Linked DNA regions of Homo sapiens: regions 1 and 2 are each linked to region 3. Evidence: promoter capture Hi-C in human tissues and cell types (Jung and others, 2019). All regions are on one chromosome and are shown on one strand. The core of a region is centred on a gene start or on the middle of the fragment in contact, and the rest is flanking DNA. Distances in the headings are between cores, read along the strand shown. Region 1 holds the start of SCARF1 (scavenger receptor class F member 1). Region 2 overlaps WDR81 (WD repeat domain 81). Region 3 holds the start of MYO1C (myosin IC).

What was found. The method cuts DNA at HindIII sites, captures the fragments that hold promoters and counts their contacts. A contact is called where the count stands out against the background at its distance.
Region 1: a contact is called between the fragment with the promoter of SCARF1 here and the fragment with the promoter of MYO1C in region 3, in 1 of the 25 tissues and cell types used here (pancreas).
Region 2: a fragment that was not itself captured here is called in contact with the fragment with the promoter of MYO1C in region 3 in 1 of the 25 tissues and cell types used here (dorsolateral prefrontal cortex).

Annotation. Positions count from the first base shown.
Region 1 is chr17:1,643,716-1,647,793 of GRCh38, forward strand. SCARF1 (scavenger receptor class F member 1) reads right to left here and starts at 2,017. Exons shown (of 11, transcript NM_003693.4): 1 at 1,882-2,017; 2 at 1,463-1,524; 3 at 1,119-1,220; 4 at 1-252. The coding sequence starts at 1,982. It overlaps RILP (Rab interacting lysosomal protein), which reads right to left. Exons shown (of 8, transcript NM_031430.3): 7 at 3,191-3,274; 8 at 2,435-2,904. The coding sequence ends at 2,727. The HindIII fragment of the contact is 19,188 bases long and covers 1-4,078 here.
Region 2 is chr17:1,728,005-1,732,325 of GRCh38, forward strand. WDR81 (WD repeat domain 81) reads left to right here. Exons shown (of 10, transcript NM_001163809.2): 1 at 1-622; 2 at 2,376-2,483; 3 at 2,751-2,941; 4 at 3,064-3,254; 5 at 4,321. Among named protein-coding and RNA genes, the nearest start is that of WDR81, 5.5 kb to the left of the region's middle. The HindIII fragment of the contact is 3,649 bases long and covers 657-4,305 here.
Region 3 is chr17:1,490,324-1,494,882 of GRCh38, forward strand. It overlaps MYO1C (myosin IC), which reads right to left and starts at 2,363. Exons shown (of 32, transcript NM_001080779.2): 1 at 2,090-2,363. The coding sequence starts at 2,164. It overlaps LOC105371483 (a long non-coding RNA gene), which reads left to right and starts at 2,464. Exons shown (of 2, transcript XR_934145.4): 1 at 2,464-3,302; 2 at 3,627-4,371. INPP5K (inositol polyphosphate-5-phosphatase K) reads right to left here. Exons shown (of 12, transcript NM_016532.4): 12 at 4,254-4,559. RefSeq lists an enhancer at 695-1,414 and silencers at 699-1,138, 1,219-1,618. The HindIII fragment of the contact is 10,403 bases long and covers 1,322-4,559 here.

The DNA.
Region 1 (4,078 bases), core at 767-3,266, 150 kb after region 3:
CGCAGCGCGCCGCCGCGGTGTTGCACTGGCACGGGCGGCGGCACGTGGACGACCACCAGCCGGGTTCGCAGTGGCACACGCCGGTCGCGGGGTCGCAGCGCCCGTGGGGGCCGCAGGCGCACGGGAACTCGCAGCGGGCTCCCCAGCGGTCGGCCTGGCACTGGCACGCGCCCGTGGCTGGCTCGCACTGGCCGTGCGGGTGGCAGGGGCAGCTCTCACGGCAGTCGGGGCCCCAGTACTGGCCCGGGCAGCCTGCGGGGGTGGGGACGGGAGGGGTCAGCGGGCTCAGGGCCGCGCGCAGACCCTTACCCTGCGTCCCCTTCCTCAAGGAAAAGGGGCGCTGGGCCCATCCTCCAAGAGCCGGGGACAGACCCTCAGAACATCCGGCAGCCTGTCCTGGGCAACACTCACTTCCTGCTCCGCTCTGACCTACAGAAAACCCTTAGCCATTAGTGGGAGGCTCAGCCTGCCACTTCACATTCCAGAACACACTCAGAGATCCTGAGTGGGCAGGGGACTTGCCCAGAGCGTGGCACCGAGGTTGGTGGGCCTTCCTCCATGCCTGCTCCTCCCTGCCGAGATGGATCTCTGCTGGGCTGGAGGAGAGCTGGCTTTCTCCTGATCTCAGGCCTGGATACTGCCCGCCAGGGTGTCGGGAGAAGCCACCTTTCCCCTAGTGATTCCTTGATTCCTGATGCCCACCCTCTGGCTCTCCTGCTTCCCAACCCCTTTCCCTTCCCTCTCTTTCTGCCAGAGAGGGCAGAGAGCCCAGCCAGGGGCCCCCTTCCATCCACTGCCCATGTATAAGGTATATGTGGGAAAGGCAAGTAATACACTCATTTTACAATGAAGGGGAATCACAGGTTTTCTGAGAAGTGGAAGAGGAAGATGCTCAGGTGGGCAGTGCTTTGTGGATGTGGGTAAAAACCCGGTGACTCAGGTCATCTCCCGGGAGTGTGTGTCACTTCCTGTCTCTGGACCGCAATTCCTCAGTGAAGCTGGGGGGGATTCTGGCCCTGCTGTCCTGAGGCTGCATGGCTACCTGCCTCGCCTGCTCCCACACCACTGCCCCCGTACCCAGCTCTGCCCAGCAACTTCATCTGGCCCTTGAGACTCACGGGAGCTGCAGTGGGCCCCAAAGAATCCAGGCTTGCATCGACAGAGGCCCGGCTTCACACACACCTCGTCTTTCTGGCAGGCGTCCGGCCCCTCACAGATGGCTGAAAGACACCCCACCCAGGTTGGAAAGACGGGAGCAGGACCAGGGGACACCCCTGCCCTCTCACTGGCTCCAGGGGCCATGCCTCCTCAAGAGGTGCCCCTTCAGGCCTGGGGGTGCGTCACAGGAGAAACCCTGACTCCTGGTATCAGGAGGGGCAGGCCCCATGGGGTAGGAAGGAAGGGTTGTCACTGGGCTACGGCCTCCCTTCTCCTTGGCTGAGGGTCTGTCCTGGCTACTCACGGATGGTGCATTCTTGATCCTTCTGCCTCCAGCCTGCGCAGCACTGCAGCTCAGCAGAGGGGCTGTGGGGCAAAAAGGGGTCAGCCGGACATGGTGGGGGGTGCAGCCTGGCCCTGAGGAAGGTGGATCACTGTCTCTGGCTGCAGTGGGGGAGGCTGCCTTAGCCCCCTGGGGAGGCCTAATGGATCTTTACAGCTAGGGTCCCCAGCCCCTCCCCTCTCCTTCCCTGACCCTTCCACCATCTGCCCTGGCTGGCCACTACCTGCCAGACCGCCATCAGCAGTCCCTTCCTTTCAGCCTAAGCCCCCTTCCTAGTCTCCTCCTTCCCCTAACGGCCTCAACACCGGTTCAGCCACCCGCATCAGACTCCCACGAGACCCACCTGCTGGCCACACGCATCAGACTCCCACGAGACCCACCTGCTGGCCACACAGACGTGCTGCCCTTTGGGGTCCAGCTCGGACCCCTGAGTCCCCCGAGTCCAGAGCAGCAGCAGCGGGAGCAGCAGCCCCAGCCCCATGGCAGGCAGCTCGGTGGGAGCGCTCGGGTTCGTCTGGCCCCCACAGCTCCCAACCCCCTCCCTGCTTCCTCTCAGGGCTTTTCCTGAGGAAACCAGGCCGGAGGGGCGGGCTGCCACGAGGCACCTCCCTGAGAGGGAGGGGGTGGCTGGAAAGACTGACACTCAAAAAAAGAAAGGGAAAGAAAGGCAATGGCAGGGCTGACTGGCCTGGGCCTGGAAGGGCCAGAAGAATGAAGTTGCAGGTCCCTGGGTGCCGGGGCCAGGGAAGGGGGTGGACTGAGGCTGGGAGCCACGGCTTTCCATCAGGCCACACTCCCAAAGCAAGGCCTGAGCTGCAAGAAGCCACCCCACCCAGTGACTGAGCAAGGAGACCAGCGAGGACCCCTCAGCCTGCCTCTGCTCCTGGCAGGGTTGGGAGGTGGCACAGACATGGACAGACAGGCGAGGAACAGTTTCTGTGTATTACGGGCAGTTCTTTATTACATGAGCTCAGGCCGTCTGCACAAAGCCCTGGGAGCTAGGCAGTCAGCTCTCATTTCATGGATGGGGAAACTGAGACTCAGAGAGGCACTCTTATATCTGGCCCCAGAGGCTCGGTACAGAGACGTAGAGAGGGAGGCGGGCTGAGACCCCGTCCTGCCCTGATGCAGGCCAGGATTGGGGCAGACCCCTGGCGAGGGCTGTGAAGGCGGGAGCCCTGTCCTCATTTGAGGCCACACATCCTTCCACAGCCAGACCCCTAAGTCAGGCCTCTGGGGCGGCTGAGGCCCCCAGACAAAGGTGTTCGTGGAGGGCAGAACAGGGCGGATCAGGAGCTGGAGACTGTGGTTGGGCCTCCTCTTCTCCCCCTAGCTTGCTGGGTGCAGGGCTGCTGGTCTCATCCTCAGAGGATTCAGCTTTACCCCGATACCATAGGCCAAAGCTGGAGAGAGACAGCCAGAGGCACTTTGAGCCAGGAAGCCAGAGAGGTCAAGGATATGGGTGAGGGCAGGGGATGGTGAGAAAAGGGGAGAGGGGGAAGAAAGGGCAGCCTGAGGGAGTGTGAAGGTGATGGGGGCCAGGGCCAGAGAAGCAGGAGGGGACGGTGTGCTTAGAGCCAAGCACAGCAGGGTGACGGGCAGAGAAGCGGGAAAGGGGATCCTGAGAAGGACCAGCCAGGGCCCTTCCTCCCTCCCCACACTCTTGCCTTTCCCCTTTCCCCAACATACAAACTCTGTATTTTGGACTCCGGGGGTGGGGGATGGTCTCCCTTGTCATCGGAGAGCAGGATCCATGGGCCAGCCTCATCCTCACTGAGACAGAGGAGAGAGGAGAAGTGAGGGCCATTGATCAAGGCCCTGAGGGACAACAGGAATCCAGCAGGGGGGATGGAGGGACTGCAGGGCCCCCGGGGCTGGAGAGAAGGCAACCCTGGGGAGATGCAGGATGTCGAGCCTTTAATTTTTAATTTTTTTTTTTTTGAGACAGGGTCTCACTCTGTCGCCCAGGCTGGAGTGCAGTGGTGCGATCTCAGCTCACTGCAACCTCCGCCTCCCAAGTTCAAGCGATTCTCCTGCCGCAGCCTCCTGAGTAGCTGGGATTATAGGCACATGCCACCATGCCCGGCTAATTTTTGTATTTTTAGTAGAGACGGAGTTTCACCATGTTGGCCACGCTGGTCTCGAACTCCTGACCTCAGGTGATCTACCCACCTTAGCCTCTCAAAGTGCTGGGATTACAGGCGTGAGCCACCGCGCCCTGCCAAGGGTTTATTTTATAGCTTGACACACAGCAGGCCCTGACACAGCCGCGGCTACAGTTTCACCCCCGTAAGAATAAACAGACCCAGCCAAGACAGGAACTTGAAGAATGAATGTGGAGAGGCAGTGTTGTCAGGCAGAATGGATGGCAGGCAAGGCAAGGGGAGTGGTGAGATCCAGGGAGAAGGGCGCAGGCTGGACAGCGGCCATGGGACACAGCCAGAGCAGGTCAGCAGGCCCTAGAAGCGGCCAGGCTAGGGAGGCTCAAGGGGTGACCGGGTTGGGGTGACAGCCTCAGTCTGAGACAATGGGCTCAGAGGGTGACCAGGCTGGGTCATCAGGCTCAGCAGAATGAGG
Region 2 (4,321 bases), core at 1,231-3,730, 240 kb after region 3:
GAGGCCTCCCAGGAGGAGAGCAAGGACCTGGCAGGGGCTGCTGAGGAGGAGGAGAGCGGGCTGCCCGGGGCCGGGCCTGGCTCCTGTGCTTTTGGGGAGGAGATTCCCATGGATGGGGAGCCTCCTGCCTCCTCGGGCCTGGGGCTCCCAGACTACACGTCTGGCGTCAGCTTCCACGACCAGGCTGACCTCCCTGAGACAGAGGACTTCCAAGCCGGGCTCTATGTGACTGAGTCTCCCCAGCCCCAGGAGGCTGAGGCTGTGAGCCTGGGCCGGCTGAGTGACAAGAGCAGCACCAGCGAGACCTCCCTGGGTGAGGAGCGGGCTCCAGACGAGGGGGGTGCCCCCGTGGACAAGAGCAGCCTTCGATCAGGTGACAGCAGCCAGGACTTGAAGCAAAGCGAGGGCTCCGAGGAGGAAGAGGAGGAGGAGGACAGCTGCGTGGTGCTAGAGGAGGAGGAGGGGGAGCAGGAGGAGGTCACCGGGGCATCTGAGCTCACTCTGTCTGACACGGTGCTGTCCATGGAGACGGTTGTGGCCGGCGGCAGTGGGGGAGATGGAGAAGAAGAGGAGGAGGCACTGCCTGAGCAGTCAGAAGGCAAAGAACAGAAGATCCTCCTTGGTAAGTTCCCAGGTCTGGGAGGTGTTGGTCAAAAACACCTCCTGCTGGCCGAGCACAGTGGTTCACGCCTGTATTCCCAGCACTTTGGGAGGCTGAGGCGGGCGGATCACAAGGTCAGGAGATCGAGACCATCCTAATAACAAGGTGAAACCCCGTCTCTACTAAAAATACAAAAAAATAGCCGGGCGTGGGGGCAGGCACCTGTAGTCCCAGCTACTCGGAAGGCTGAGGCAGGAGAATGGCGTGAACCCGGGAGGCGGAGCTTGCAGTGAGCCGAGATCGCACCACTGCACTCCAGCCTGGGCGACAGAGCGAGACTCCATCTCAAAAAAACAAAACAAAACAAAAAAACAGCTCCTGCTTCTCCCTGCACACTGGCAGAGCACCTACTCTGTGCCAAGCAGTGGATCGAGCCAGGACCACCGGCAACACAAATGTAGGCCTGCCTTCACAGAGCTCACACCCAGCAGACGAGATGCCGCAGTGCAGACAGTCTTAAGCAAGTGTATTATGTTAGTGCGATAAAGAACATGGCTGCATTCCTAGGAGGGAGTGCAACATGGAGCTTTTCGGCCGGGCGCCGTGGCTCACGCCTCTAATCCCAGCACTTTGGGAGGCCGAGGCAGGAGGATCACTTGAGGTTAGGAGTTCGAGACCAGCCTGGCCAACATGGTGAAACCCCATCTCTACTAAAAATACAAAAATTAGCCAGGCGTGGTGGCGGGCACCTGTAATCCCAGCTATTCAGGAGGCTGAGGCAGGAGAATTACTTGAACCCAGGAGGTGGAGGTTGCAGTGAGCTGAGATCACACCACTGCACTGCAGCTTGGGCAACAGAGCGGGACTCCGTCTCAAAAAAGAAAAAAAAAATGGTGCTTTTACATCTAGTTTTCAAGGGTCAGAGCAGGCTTCCTTAAAAGGAGAGACAGTTGAGGTTCAAGGAGGAGTAGGAAGAAGGTAGACAAAAATGGGCAAAAAGAAAGTCTGAAGGCTGAGGGAACAGCATGTGTGAGGCTCTGAGGCTGTCATGTTCCATTAAAGAAGAGAAGCGGGGGACCGGGCGCGGTGCTTCACGCCTGTAATCCCAGCACTTTGGGAGGCTGAGGCGGATGGATCACAAGGTCAGGAGATTGAGACCATCCTGGCCAATATGGTGAAACCCCATCTCTACTAAAAATACAAAAACTTAGCTGGGCATGGTGGAGGGTGCCTGTAATCTCAGCTATTTGGAAGGCTGAGGCAGGAGAATCGCTTGAACCCGGAGGTTCAAGGAGGAGAGTCAGGGCGGTGGAAGGTGGAGGTTGCAATGAACTGAGATTGTGCCATTGCACTCCAGCCTGGGCAACAGTGCGAGACTCTGTCTCAAAAAAAAAAAAAAAGAAGAAGAAGAAGAAGAGAAGCAGGGAAAGGCCGTTATGGCGAGACCGAGGGAGTGGAGGGAAGAGAGGCCAGAGGGAAGGTGGCCAGGGCCGGGCCAGGCCTTGTTAAGGAGTTTCAGAAGACCCACGGGCAGGCTAACTTCCTGCGGGTCGTGCCTGTGGAGAGGAACCTGCGGCAGCCAGAGTCCCACAGGCCAGGGCCTGGGCACCTCTGCCGCTGTTACGTGGAGGGGGTGGTGTGGGACAGCCGGCCCGGGCTGGGCTCTTGGCAGAGCTGCAGCCGCAGGTGGTTGAGTGGGGTGCCGTGGGGTGGGGTGGGAGGGGTGATGAGCCCCTGTTATCTGAGGAGCTCAGGGCCTGCTCCCACCCCGCAGATACAGCCTGCAAGATGGTCCGCTGGCTGTCTGCCAAGCTCGGCCCCACAGTGGCCTCTCGCCACGTGGCCCGGAACCTGCTCCGCCTGCTGACGTCTTGTTATGTTGGTAAGGAGGCCTGCGGTCAGTGCTGGAGATGAGGCTTTCTCCCAGGCCCTCTGCCTAGCTTCAGCGCTCTCCGGCGGGGATCCTTCCCACCCCTCCCTCAAACCACCCCCCGGCCAGGTGCTGGGTCCCAGTCTAAGTGCCAGCCTTGGGTAGGGCCAGGCTGGGCCCCCAGCTAGAGTGAGCTCAAGCGGCCAGCACAGCCCTGCAGGGCCAGGCTACCCCCGGCCCTCCACTGGCGACTCAGGGCTGCTGGCCCTTCCGTGGCAGGACCCACTCGGCAGCAGTTCACAGTGAGCAGTGGCGAGAGCCCACCGCTGAGCGCCGGCAACATCTACCAGAAGAGGCCGGTCCTGGGCGACATCGTGTCAGGGCCTGTGCTCAGCTGCCTCCTCCACATCGCCCGCCTGTATGGGGAGCCTGTCCTCACCTACCAGTACCTGCCCTACATCAGCTACCTGGTCAGTCGCTGGTTTGGCAGGCCCGGGGCTGGGAAGGCTGAGGACCTGAGGGCCGGCCCGGGCTCTCTTGGTGCCAGGGGGTCTGTGGGGCTGCCCGGCCCTCATCTGCTCGGTGGCTCTAGGTGGCCCCAGGGAGTGCCTCAGGCCCCAGCCGACTGAACAGCCGTAAGGAGGCGGGGCTGCTGGCCGCGGTGACGCTGACTCAGAAGATCATCGTGTACCTCTCAGACACCACACTCATGGACATCCTGCCCCGGATCAGCCATGAGGTCCTGCTGCCCGTGCTCAGCTTCCTCACCTCCCTCGTCACGGGGTAGGCCTCTGCCCCAGCTGATGTAGGGGGACCGGCCCAGCGGAGGGGCTGCCCAGGAGGGGGTGGGAAGCTCAGGGGAGAGGACGTAACACTGGACTGGGTGTCAAGAGTCCTGGTTTTGATCCCGGCTGTGTGACCCTGAGCAAACCACACCCTTTTCCTGTGCCTCAGTTTCCTCATCTGGTTTGGACCAGTTGGTCTTGGAGCTCTTTCATTTAAAGCTTTTGATATGTCCGGGCACGGTGGCTCATGCCTGTAATCCCAGCACTTTGAGAGGCTGAGGCGGGAAGATTGCTTGAGCCCAGGAGTTCAAGACCAGCCTGGGCAACAAAATGAGACCCCCTCTCTAAAAATATATATAAAGGCCGAGCGTGGTGTCTCACCCCTGTAATCCCAGCACTTTGGGGGGCCAAGGCGGGTGGATCACGAGGTCAGGAGTTTGAGACCCACCTGGCCAACATGGTGAAACCCCGTCTCCACTAAAAATACAAAATCTTCGCTGGGCATGGCAGCAGGTGCCTGCAATCCCAGGTTCTCGGGAGGCTGCAATCCCAGGTTCTCAGGAGGCTGAGGCGGGAGAATTGCTTGAACCCAGGAAGCGGAGGTTGCAGTGAGCTGAGATCACGCCATTGTACTGCAGCCTAGGCGACAGAGCAAGACTCTGTCTCAAAAAAAAAAAAAAGTATATATATATGCTGGGTGCTGTGGCTCATGCCTGTAATCCCAGCACTTTGGGAGGCCAAGGTGGGTGGATCGCTTGAGGTCAGGAGTTCGAGACCAGCCTGGCCAATATGGCAAAACCCTGTCTCTACTAAAAATACAAAAAAAATTAGCCGGGTATGGTGGCTCATGCCTGTAGTCCCAGCTACTCGGGAGACTGAGGCAGGAGAATCGCTTGAACCCGGGAGGCAGAGGTTGCAGTGAGCCGAGATCGCACCACTGCACTCCAGCCTGGATGACAGAGCAAGACTCCATCTCAATAAAAATAAAAATAAATAAAGATTTTGCTAGATTCTGGTCAAGTCCTGCAGAACGGCGGGCTGGAGCTCATGAGCTCTGTTTCCAGG
Region 3 (4,559 bases), core at 1,113-3,612:
CGTCTCTACTAAAAAAAAAAAAAAATTAGCTGGGCGCGGTGGCACACACCTGTAATCCCAGCTACTCAGGAGGCTGAGGCAGGAGAATAGCTTGAACCCGGCAGGTGGAGGTTGCAGTGAGCAGAGGTCGCACCACTGCATTCCATCCTGGGCAACAGAGCGAGACTCCATCTCAAAACAAAACAAAACAACAACAAAAACAAACAAAAACCTCACCTCCATCACTGCTCCTTACCTGGGCCAAGACAGCAGCCTAACTGGCCTCCTTGCCTTCCTCCTACCAATCCATTTCCTCTGGGGCAACACAAATCAAATCAACACCTCATGTTCATAGAGTGAAGGTTTAGGACACCCTCCATATGCCAGGCCCATGATTCACACTCACTGCTGCTTACCAGGACCCTGCCTATGAACTCCCGAGACCCCCCTGCTGTCCCCAGTTTACCCCACTGCTCCTGCATTCCGATGTGCCAGATGGCCCGCTCCAGTCCCCTCTCCCCCCACCCCTCCCCCCAGGAGGGGGCCTTCGCACCGTCGCCAGCCAGTCCAAGCTTCAGTGCCTGCACCTGCGGCTTCCCCAGCCCGGGGCACTCTCCCTGCCCACCTCACTGAGACTCGGCTCAGGTGTCACCTCCTCCAGAACCCCTTCCTGATTCTCCCAAACACGCAGCGCCTCCTTATCGCACCCCGCAGGAATCAGCTGTTTCCTTGTCAGTCCCTCCCAGGAGACGGCTCCCACTCCCTACACGCAGCGAGGCACACGGTGGGGCTCAGTCACCCCTTCCCGGACCCCTGGATGAATGAATGAATCTCAGAGCCAGGCGTGTGCGCGGGAGGCCGGAGCGTGAGGACTGAGGGCCGCGTGGCCATCCTCCTTCTCCGGCCACCCCGGAGCCCCCCGCCCGTCACACTCGGGGCGCGCTGGGCCCCAGGGGCGGAGAACGGGAAGGGGCGGGTTTAGGCGGCTTCTCCGGAACCCAGAGGCGGAGCAGGGCTGCGGGCGGGGCCCGAAGGGCGCGCAGGGTCCTGGGTCCTGCAGCCCAGGCCGCTCTTCCCCGCCTCCCGCTCCCCGCAGGTAAATCTAAGTCTCCACCAGGCTGCGCCGGCGCCTCCGGGTCGTGGGACCCCCCCCCCCCGCACGGGTCCACGCGGCCGTTCTTCGGCCCCAGCGATCCCCGGCCGTGACCCCTGCCTCGTGCACGGCGGCTCCCGGCCCGGCCGCCCGCTCCCCACACCCGCCCCCCGCGGCCGCCGTCCCCGCGCCCCGAGTACCCACCGGCGTGGCTCTTCCGGCGCGGGCGGGGCCGGGCTGGGCGGCGTGGCGGGCTTGGGGATCCGCGGCCCGGGCGCACTCTCCCCGCCCAGGGCCCGCCGGGGGCCGGGCCGCAGCCTGTCGTCATCCCGGGCAGGGCCGCGCACCCTCCGGCCCCGCCCCGCCCCGCCTCAGCCCCGGCCGCGTCCGCGAAGCCTCGGTGCGTGCGGCCCCCGCCTCGGCCCGTTCCCGGGGCCACAGCGAACACGCGCGCGCCCCTCCGGCCGAAGACCCGGCTCCCCGCCGCGCTGCTGGGGGCGTGGGGGCGCCCGACTTTCTCCCTCCTCCGGGCCCTTTGCATCTCCAGCCCCTTCCTGCGGGCCGGGCCAGGGCCGCGCTCCCCCGTTTCTACCCACCCGTGACCCTTCACCCACCTCCCACACCGTCCTTCTGTTCTGAGTCTTGGGCGGTCCCAGCCCTGCGGACTGGAGAGGAGCGGGGCGTTGACTGAGCCTGGAGCTTCCATGCCCTGGTCCTTCGACCTCACAGCAGCCGGCACTTGCCTTTTGTGCCCAGTATTCACGGTTCTGCCCACTGAGGTTCGGGAAGCCGGGGAAGAGTCAAGCCCAGACCTCCACTTCCAAAAATCCTGCTGCTAGTGGCCCTTGCATCCTTACTCTTCCACTCACCCCGTCTTGTTCAGTCTGTTCTGGCCCCGCCAAGGATCGGAACCCCTCCCCGCTGCTCAGCTCTTGCCCGAGGGCTCGCCTGAGAGGGGCTGCCCGGCCTTGGGGAGACGCTCCCACCCTCCTCCCAGCCCAGAGCATCCCAGCTTACAAGCTTGCAGGGCCTGTGGGGATGAACCACGCGGATGATCTCCCCGGTGGGTACCAGCTCCACTTGCAGCGCCATTCCGCCCTGCGGAGAGCCAGCGGCCTGGGCACCGCGGCCTGTGAGCAAGAGCTGCCTGCCCACTGGCGGGCTCCGACCACTCCGGGACCAGGAACCTACGGTCTAACGCCGGGATGGCCACTTGGTTCTGCTTCAACTGCAGCCCCAGGGGATGTGGCTGGTCCAGCTCCTCAGGACACGGCTGGAGCCGTCCAGGTCTGACTGGGAGGCCTCTTGGCCCGGATGGTTGGAGCAGGAAGAGGAGGGGCTGGGGATGGAGGAAATGCCTGTTGTCCCAGGTAACCAGAGGAGCCGATGCAGCCACCCATGGGGGACCCTGGGCTCCAGGTCAAAGGCTAGGACGCCTTTCCCCTTCCCCCCATCCCCACGGCAGCTCTATGGCTGGGCCCCTCCTCCTGCCCACTCTCTGGTACCACCTAGAGAGCACGGGGCCCACTCCCCAAACCAGACGGCATGCCCTCCCCTAGGCCAAGAGGACCCGTTAGTAGGCACTGGCTTTCCTGCACATCCCCTCAACGGGGCTGCCCCCCACAGCAGGTGAGCCCCCACCATGAGTTTGAGAGACCAGGGCTGCTGGGGCCTGGTCATGCAGGGCCCGGACAGGGGGCTGTCCCGCTGTGAGGAAGCTCTTGGCTTACCCTCCTCTGAGCCTCAGAGCTTGTGAGGTTAGTTCCTGGGTTCCCTGGGTGTGGGCAACCTCTAGCCCTGTTCATCCCTTGCGTTTCAACAGTACCCCCAGGTGACCCCCACCCCTGATGTTCCTGCTTTTCTATTTTTATTGTTGCTAAATCACAGCTGACACTTTCCTGGCCTGAGACTGAGCCCTCCAGTCTCCAGCCATTCCTTATAGGAAGTAAGAACAGGGAAGTGGATAGGGGAAACAGACCTTTCCAGAGGGAGAGGCTGGCATAGGAAGGGCTGAGTCCCGTGGGTGTGTGCTGGCACCGACAGCCCCATAGGCAGGGGCCTTCCCCCCGGCACCCTTCTCTCTCCCCACAGCTTCCCCCGCCCCGGAAAAGCTAGCAAGCCTTCCTTCCTTCCTCCGGGAAGCACATCTATCCAGAGCAGGCTCATCCCCGGCGGCCACACAATGGCCCTTATCAGCCGTGGAGCCAGGCGTAGACCCAGTGCACACCAGGTCTCACTTATTTCCTGTTTCCACCCAGTGGGTCGGGGTGGACCCAGAACGGCCATATCCTGACTGGGGCCCAGAGGACGGAGAGCACCCCCCATTCCCCTTTCCGCCTCTCAATCACTGCTGGGCTCACCCCTCCCACACAGGAGGCTGGGTGTGTGGCGACCTCAGTTCACCACGGGGGAGGTGAGCATGTGGGGGGACCCCTGGGGTCAAGCCCCGGGGCCGCATTAATCAGAACGGGGAGGCGGGTCTAGTGCGATACACTTTCTGCAATTGTTCTCCCACAGTAATCTTGAGAATAGGGACATCATCTGTATTTTACAGACTACTGAGACCGCTCTGCGGGTGGGTTCAGACCCCATTCCTGTTTCTGGTCCTGTGGGAAACCACAGGTGCCTGGAACTTTGAAGAGACTGTACCACTTCTCTGAGCCTTGGCTTTCCCATCTGCCCAATGAAGGGTGCCATGCAGTAACCCTCGTGATGGCTGTGCATGTGAGAAGGAACAGGTGGGCAAGTGAGGGCTTTGGAGGTCCCTAGGTATATGTGTTGGGGGCAGGGATAGGTTACCATGGGGGAAAACTCAGCAAGAAGGGGCTGAGGAGAAGTGGGGCAGAAAGAGAAGATGGTGGCATTCTGGACTGGTTAACGCAGGCAGAAGGCTCAACACCAGGGTATGCAGAGCAGCGGGTCAGGAGGGATGAACAAGAGCTCATTTGACTTAACAGAGTACATTAAGCGGCCACCGGCATAGATGGCATGCTCCACCTGGTTAGGGCCCCAGAGGCTCACCATTCTAGAACCTCATCCTAGCCCCAGTCCTGGCCACTTCTGCAAATCTCAGACACAGAAGTCTAGTTGGGATCTACAGGGTCCCTGTTCCTGGAATCTACAGCTAGTCCCAGGCCCATCACCGTACCCCCACCCCCCAATCATCAGTCACACGCAAGTGTAAAAGCCACGCTAATAATTACCCCTGCACAATGTAACAGTCACAAAACAGCCAGCCATGGCCTGCTGGAAGCCAGGGGACAATTCTTCATACACAGGCTTGCGGGGGAGAGTATGCAACACAGAGCAACTGGAGTAACCCTCAGTCCCAGGACACAGGATGGCAGGACAAGCACTGAGCAGGCTCCCAGAGGTGTCTTCTCCTGGGAAAAGGGCTGCCGAGTGACCATGGCGGAGGCAAGTGCTGGATGTGGGGACAGGCCATGTCCCCAAAGCCCCTAGAGGGTGTTCTCTGAAGAACCCCAGG